Regions from separate parts of the Homo sapiens genome. Here regions 2 and 3 are each linked to region 1. The links are contacts of gene promoters, found by promoter capture Hi-C in blood cells and fetal thymus (Javierre and others, 2016). All regions are on one chromosome and are shown on one strand. Each heading gives the region's core, a stretch centred on a gene start or on the middle of the fragment in contact. The rest is flanking DNA. Distances are from core to core; before and after follow the strand shown.

Region 1 (2,700 bases), core at 121-2,620:
AAATTTCAACCTAGCACTGCTTGAGTTTTTTAAAGCAATTTACTTCTACCTGGACAAGCAGTAAGGCAAGCCAAAGTAGCTGGGTTTTCTGTGACTTCTCAGTCTCCAACCTTTATGGTCACACTAACATTTCACGTTTCTAATGCTCCTAAACATAATTATCTCAAAAAAAAATTCAAACCACAACTGAATTTAAAGGAAGGGGGGCACTTTGCGTCACTGATAGAAAATGATTTAACACAATGAACTTAGAACTGGGTTTTTTCTTGTAACCATAGTAAGGGAGTGAAGATCAGAGAATTTAAAACTGTAACTAGGCTAGTCTCCTCACCTTGCAGTATCTCACCCTATCGGGTAGTCGTTGAAACAACACTGAGAAAGAAAGGCTCACAAAATTTTGATTTACACACATGCAACTTAATCTTGACGACACGTAAGTACCCACTGCACGTCCCTGAAAACGCATCGACTTGATTCTTAAATACAACCCCTATGTCTAATATACTGGCAGTGCAGATACACTACGTGAACACAACGGGGATGGAGGTATATCTCAGAGAACCAGAGGCGTTAGGCCTGCTGGTAATCAAAACGGACAGCTAACTGAAGAAGTCCCGTTTTCTATCCCCACAGCAAACTGAGTTAACTAAGGCATCACTTGGAATCCTCAACTCGCAACCCCAAATACACCCAGACTTAAGGATGCAAGGCCCCTACAAAGCTCTCAGGAGGCGAGTCTCTCGTCCACACCAGGTGCACCTACTCTAACCCTAGCTTCCTTCTCGGACCCTACTCTGGCCCCTCGGCTCCCCGCACCGCCATACCTGGGGGCGCCCCCAGTACTGCATCCCCTTGCTTCGCCCCCACCCCTATCACTTCGTCACTCACCCTGAGTCACCGGAGCCGCCCGCCCGCCCAGCCCAATCCGCCCACAACACCTCCAGCCCCTCACCCTCCCCTCCTCCAGGCCGAGTGGAGCCGGCCTGTCCCCTCCCGCCCACCGCCCTGTCCCAGGACACTCACCCGCGGTAGTAGGCTTTCACCCGGACCTGGTGGGAATGGTCCCCGCTGCCGCCGCCTGCGACCGTGTGGGACATGGTGCTGCTGTCCCTCTGGGTCGGCATCTCCTCACTCCCCCGCCTCAACGCTGGAGGCCGGGGGTGCGGGGGGGCGCTTCGGGCGCCGTGGGGGACTCCGCCGCCTGCGCTTGCCGGAGAACCGCGGCCGTCCGCCCACCTACCTGCCCACCTCGCCCGCAGCGCCGACCCAAGGGTCGCCTCGCCGGAGCAGCCGGAACCGCGCGGCTCCTCCCACTGCCCGTAGGCGCCGCCGCCTCTACAGCCGCCCGGGCCCAAGACACCTCCTGCGTCGGTCCCTCCCACTTCGCTCGCTCCAAAGGCCCACATTCCGGGGTAGGGCGGGCGCAACCATCCAGCCAGCTCAAGGAGCCTCAATACCGGGCTGAACCATCCTTACGGGGGCAGAGAAAGGGGACAGAGGGAATGGGAGACGCTGATCATGGCATCAAACACGCCGAGAGGGGTGCTTTCACGCGAGCTGTGAAAGAGACAATGACCAGCTCTAGATCACTAAAGTCTCTTCCCTGCAGGGACAATGGTAGGGACAAATTCTACGACACCTCACCCTAGCCTCGCAACTTGGTCACGTCTGCGGTCGGCCGACTTGGCACCCGGGATAGATTTGCGTGCAGGTTTCTGGGATTTGGAGTCCTCATAGGATTCTGGGACTTGAGGTTCCTTGCGCGTAGGGTGCCGCGCCTTCCCGCTGGTGAAGTCTGTCTCTCCAGCGTGCTCCCTGGAGCTGTCGGGGTGGAAAACCTGGATCCAGCTTGGGCATCTGAAGGTCCTGGAAATGACTGGGCTTCCTCACGTTCTAGACTTTATTAACTGATGAAGTCTCCCTTCTTCTAATTGCATAAATCGTCTGAATTATACATGTCTTTTGGGGGAACAAGAATTTGGTTACCTGCTCAGCATAACCTCTTTTATGGAAATAATTTAATAACATATGTAACAAATATAATAAAGGAAGAAACTCAACCAGAAAATATGATGAAAAACCGATTTTTCTTCTTTGGGGGCCCCCATATCTAGGCCCTTGTAGACTGCCCTTGCATGGAACAAGAGCCCAATGAATACTTACCCAATCAAGTCAGTCAATCCAAGAGCATTTCATTCTGTAAAAACTGGCTTACCAAAGATTAGAAAGAATCGTCCTTGGCCGGGCGCGGTGGCTCAAGCCTGTAATCCCAGCACTTTGGGAGGCCGAGGCGGGCGGATCACAAGGTCAGGAGATCGAGACCATCCTGGCTAACACGGTGAAACCCCGTCTCTACTAAAAACACAAAAAATTAGCCGGGCGTGGTGGCGGGCGCCTGTAGTCCCAGCTACTCGGGAGGCTAAGGCAGGAGAATGGCGTGAACCAGGGAGGCGGAGGTTGCAGTGAGCCAAGACTGTGCCACTGCACTCCAGCCTGGGCGACAGAGCAAGACTCTGTCTCAAAAAAAAAAAAAAAAAAAAAAAAAAAGAATCGCTCTTGTAACCTAGTCTTTGACTTTCCTAGGATCTTGGCTCTGACACATAATTTACACTGCAACTACAGGTAGCATGAATCCAGCCCCTGCAGCAGTCCTGGTGCTGAAAGAGTTGGAATAATCAAAGAAATAGCTTTCTTTACGAT
Region 2 (2,700 bases), core at 38-2,537, 590 kb before region 1:
ACTTTGACTTAAGGCATTTCCTCTACTTTTCTCTAGTTTCACTCTTACCTGGCTTAGTGAGACGTAATGTTTTTGCAGGTGGTCTGATGTCTGTTATTAAAGGGAAATGCAAGGTTCACAGTGAGAACCCGACACTGGTTTTAGCTCATTCCTTGCAGGAAGCCTGATTTTTCTCACTCAATTTTGTTGGTCAAAATTTAATGAAGGCTGTAAAATCCAATGCAGGATGAGAAACACAACATTCATTCCTGGGTACTCATAGACATTCATGGAGACACTTAGGAGCATCACTTGGGTAGACAGGAGCACGTTCTTCTGCCTGACTACATCTTCCCTACTGAAATGCTGGTTTCGAGTTCACATACCCAGAGATCACTGAAAGCCAGGCACTGGGGAATGGCTAGTAGGGAGAATAGTACAGGGGAAAACACTTCACCCGTGGGTATTCACGAGCTTCCCCAGGAGTGTTTTTAGATCAGAAGACAACTGGTGAATTTCCAGGAACAGCTGCTTCAGTGCTGCCACATCCGTCAGCTCTCAACACGTGTTAGTGTCTGTCCTCCCTCCTTCTTTGGAATTTAGAACTGTGCCATGGTCTGGTTGCAGGAATCTCATTAAAGAGCTTCCCTTTCTGTATTAGTTTGCTAGGGCTGCCATTAACAAAATACCAGAGACTGGATGGCTTAAACAACAGAAATGTGTTTTCTCACAGTTCTGGAGGTTGGAAGTCCAAGATCATGGTGTGATCAGGTTGGTTTCTGGTAAGGCCTCTCTTCCTGTTCTTTGTAGACAGCCACTTTATTCCTGTGTCCTCACATAACCCTTTTTCTGTGAGCACGCAAGGAAAGAAATTTCTGGTGTCTCTTCTCCTTCCTATAAGAACCCCAGTCCTTCAGATTATAGACCAACCCTTAGGACCTCACTTAATCTTAATTACCTCCCTAAAGGCTTGAACTCCAAAAACAGTCACATTGGGAATTAGGAGTTTAACATCAGAATGGGCTTGGGGACTGGGAGAGTAGTTCAGTACTTTAACGCTTTCCCTGACAGAAAATTTTGTGATCACCTACTACATGTTGGGCCCTGTGCCACATGCTGGGGATAATAATTTATAAAAATGTTTCAACCCCTGCCTCAAGGAGCTCCTCCTCTGGGGACTGAGTCTGCAGCCATCAGAGGAGTGGGGTCACAATGAGATGTCTGGAAATGGACCTCTGTGGTAAGTGGGGATTCCTGCATGGCTTTTGCTATGATCGTATCTCAAGAAAGCAAATTCTGCAAATATTCTGAGTGGGTGGTAGTAGAGCTATTTTCTTGATGTGGCAGAGTCGCATACAAAAGCCCTTAAAGGGATCAATGAGACGAATTTCTGAGCTAGTCTGAAACAAGAACTGGGGATGAACTTTGGCAATTGGGCCAGAACTTAAACACAGGATTTTGCTGGGGTCCCAAGGTTCTGCCCATTTGGGACAATCTCTTTCACATGCGCCACACCATTCCCCTTACCACGCCAGCAGATTCAAAGAGGCAGCTTGGTACGTTTTGGTAGGTTTTGGGAGTGAGAAGGCCTGGGGTGGGGGTTGCGGCAAGAGGAGAGCAGCAACCCCTCTCACATTATCAGCTGTGCAGAACCAAGGAGAACCTAAGAAGATCCGCCAAACAGAAAAAGCTGAGATTATGCTTCACAGACCCAAAGACTTTTAAGCTCTTTATTAGCTGCAACAGAATCACCACATGGCAGTACAAAAATGTTCTTGAACTTGACACTTGAACTTGGCTGCAACCCTGCTGGTAAAACTTAGTAATTAGGCAAACAAAAAGCTGGGGAGTGCAATTACGGCCATTGAACCACTAGGGGGCACTCATGGTTTCTCATTCAGAAGAGGAGAGGGGAGGAGGAGGTTATAGGGCTATGGCTTAGGGTGGGGCATTCAGTGTGGTATTGGAGAGGGATGAAAGTTAAAGCTGTTTTGTGTGTTTGTTTTTTGGAGGGAGAGGTGTTAAAGACCTAGTTATTTCGCTAATAATATAGTATGCATTAACCTGGCCTTGACTTCTGTGAAGCTAGCGGGCCCAATAGACTAGCTGGTGGAGAGTTCTGGAGTGTGACATCCCAAACAAATAATTGTTCACTTTAAGATAACTTTCTTTCGTGGGCATTAGAAAAAGGGCATGTTTTGCATCACGAGGGAGAGCGTTTTACGCGCATGCACACACATACTAAACAGACACACCTACTGACTTAAAAACATCAACACACTGTCTGAATATTGCTTCAGGTTGGAAAACAAGGTTGCATCCAAATTGTGTCATCTTTTCAAAATACAGCTGGAGAGAAAATGCTGCCTATATTTCAGGGAGCTTTTAAATTTCAGTGACATACCAGTCTAGGCTGCCAAAAGCTAGAAGAACATGAGTCATCAAGCTAGGTGCACTGATCATAGGAAACACCAGGTCTCAGGCTCCAGCCATCCCCTATCCTCTTCCCTACCCCTACACAAATTTGTGGCTTGTGGCCAGTACCAGGATTTGCTGTTAGTCCCCATGTTCCCGGGGCCTCCTTTCCTCTAAGGTCTTCCAGCCATTGTAACTGGCTTTCTTCCCTTTTATACCTAATAGAGAACTGCTGAGGGCCTTCTTCTTTGTATTTGGGATTATCGGATCAAAAGATTGAAAGTGTGATTGCCAGGTTCTCCCAGA
Region 3 (2,700 bases), core at 131-2,630, 610 kb before region 1:
AAAAAAAAGAGAAACCTCTACTATGGGGGATGATTCTAAGGTAGGGCTCATGTACGTGGAAGTTCTTTATACATTGAAACAAAAACATTTAAGAGACATCCTCAGGTGTAGAAACAAGGCATAGAACAAAGTGTAGTGAATGTTGCCATTTGCATTAAAAAACAGAGTATAAGAATATGTGTGTGTTGCTGGTTTATCCATAGCACACATCTGACAGCATACCAAACACTCTGGTAGCTCTCATGGCCTCAGGAAAGCTGGGGGTGAAGAACAAGGATGTGAAAGGGTTCTTTTCATTCCCTATCCTTTCATACAGTTTGATTTTTTTTTTTTTTTTTTTTTTTTAAGACAGAGTCTCCCTCTGTCGCCAGGCTGGAGTGCAGTGGTGTGATCTCGACTCACTGCAACCTCCACCTCCCAGGTTCAAGCGATTCTCCTGCCCCAGCCTCCCGAATATCTGGGATGACAGGTGCGCACCACCATGCCTGGCTAATTTTTTTTTTTTTTCTTAAGTAGAGATGGGGTTTCATCATGTTGACCAGGCTGGTCTCAAACCCCTGACCTCAGGTGATCCACCTGCCTTGGCCTCCTAAACTGCTGCGATTACAGGCGTGAGCCAATGCACCCAGCCTGAGTTTTGAACTATATGAATGTATTGTCTGTTCAAATGTAGATAAGTAAAATATGTTAAAACTTCTCATTAGTGAATGCGTTGTATTACTCCTTAACTTACATAATGAAGCTTTTCTCTTTATAACCCACTCCCTGTCTTTATCCTAAATTGTCCTATTAGCATACACAATAAAGGACCCCGGGGACTAAAAGGCATTCTTCTGACAAAATTGTTAATCGTAAATTTCAATTATCCACAGCCTGAATATGACACATCTCTGTCATGAAATCCTTCCATGTTATCTTCATTTTCATTTTATGTTGGGTAAAAACTAAGGGTTTGGGAGGGAGGGGCAGCAATTGCTTGTAGGTTTCAAACTCAGAGGCAGGGTTGGAGGAAAAAAAACCTAGGCTTTCCTTTTTTCTTTTCTTTCTGTTTTTTTTTTTTTTTTTTTTTTTTTTCAGAAGGAGGAAGCTCATTATGTTTGGATCACCCACAGCTATAGATTCTAAAAATATTTTGGCTTTTTTTGAGGTGCTTTAGTAAAATATAACCCCAAATGATTCACTTGGACAAGTGGTCTTAACAGCAAGGAAAACAAACACTTTATGAAAACAGCTATAAGCCTTCTGTCTTTTATCTTTACTATTTTCTCCGAGTCTGGCATGAAACAGATACACAGCAGCCTCCACAGGGGGTTAAGTAGAGAACCATCCAAGCATCACAGAGTGTCATCCAGAATTCTGATGACTTCCATTCGTTGACTCTGATGCACAATATGCCTGGCTTGGGATGCAGCGACCATGATGCCCCTCCCAGAACAGACACTTGCAGAGTGTTCCAGGAACAGCAGCTCCCTCCAGCCCCCAGCACAAGATGCACACATCTCAGAACAAGCCTCCATCCTTTTCCTAGAGAACTGAGCATAAATAACTTGTTCTATATCTGGCTCCAAGTCCATTTCTGTTCTGTCTTGGAGTAGAGTCTTAGCTCCCAGTTTGTTTTAGGTCAACTTTCAGCACCTACTTCAGCTCACTTGTTTGATTTACTAAGCTCTTGCTTCTGTATATTATCAAATGTAGGGATGTAGGGAGAATAAAAGGATCTAGATACTTGCTTTTAGGAGAGATTAGAACAAAGCTGAAGGTGGAGGCATTAGTTCCTAGGTCTTCAGATCTCAGAGCAAAGGACCCACTCTGGAGCCTAAATTCTATGAGAGACCACAGAGCAGCCTGAAATCCAAAGGAGTTTTACACAGGAAAAAAAAAATACTGTGAGGACTTACACTAAATAATAATGTTGTTTTGAATGGGGTTGTGGGTAATTCCTATATTCTTCTTTATAACTTTTGTACTTTTCAAATTCCCTAATGTGAACTCACTACTTAGTAGGTCTGTAAGCTTAAACATTACTATGGCTTGGAATCTCATTTCAAAAAATCTTTAAAATGGGGACAAGAGTAAAAATTTCTTAGCTTCTATGGAAGAATAAAATGAAATTATAATGATACAGTGCCTGGCATGTTGTGGTCGCTCAATAAACACTGCTTTCCTCCCCATTGTCCTCCTCTTTATTCTGTTTCATTACAAGGTCAGCAGATTGAATCAGGACCAGCTGGGAGGGCTACTTCTATGAGAGAAGATCTGTCCACAGTCATGGTTTTCAATGTTTAGTGCACCAGAATCACCTTGAGGGTTTGTTAAAACAGACTGCTGAACATAACACATCTATGAGAATGGCCAAAATCCAGAACACCAAATGCTGGTGAGGATGTGGAGCAATAAAAACTCTCATTTATTGCTGATGGCAATGCAAAATGGTACAGCCACTTTGGAAGACAATTTGCCAAATTTTTACAAAACTAAGTGTACTCTTACCATACAATCTAGCAATCATGCTCCCTGGTATTTACCTAAAGGAGTTAAAAACTTATGTCTAGACAGAAACCTGCATATGAATGTTTATAGCAGTTTTTTTCATAATTGCTAAACTTTGGAAGTAACCAAGATGCCCTTCAGCAGGTGAATGGACAAATAAACTGCAGTAGATGCAGACAGTGGAATATCATTCCATTCAAATGAGCTATC

What was found. The method cuts DNA at HindIII sites, captures the fragments that hold promoters and counts their contacts. A CHiCAGO score of 5 or more calls a contact.
Region 2: a contact is called between a fragment that was not itself captured here and the fragment with the promoter of PRKCI in region 1, in 1 of 17 cell types (naive CD8 T cells). The highest score is 5.2, in naive CD8 T cells.
Region 3: a fragment that was not itself captured here is called in contact with the fragment with the promoter of PRKCI in region 1 in 1 of 17 cell types (erythroblasts); the score reaches 5.1 in erythroblasts.

The regions. Positions count from the first base shown.
Region 1 is chr3:170,221,094-170,223,793 of GRCh38, reverse strand. PRKCI (protein kinase C iota) reads right to left here and starts at 1,370. Exons shown (of 18, transcript NM_002740.6): 1 at 1,024-1,370. The coding sequence starts at 1,124. RefSeq lists a silencer at 1,010-1,299 and enhancers at 1,480-1,639, 1,650-1,709, 1,780-1,839. The HindIII fragment of the contact is 16,903 bases long and covers 1-2,700 here.
Region 2 is chr3:170,811,308-170,814,007 of GRCh38, reverse strand. All of the region lies in intron 2 of LOC105374211 (a long non-coding RNA gene), which reads right to left. Among named protein-coding and RNA genes, the nearest start is that of RPL22L1, 58 kb to the left of the region's middle. The HindIII fragment of the contact is 3,060 bases long and covers 1-2,700 here.
Region 3 is chr3:170,834,226-170,836,925 of GRCh38, reverse strand. The region is part of intron 2 of LOC105374211 (a long non-coding RNA gene); the gene reads right to left. Among named protein-coding and RNA genes, the nearest start is that of RPL22L1, 35 kb to the left of the region's middle. RefSeq lists an enhancer at 1,060-1,623. The HindIII fragment of the contact is 1,271 bases long and covers 745-2,015 here.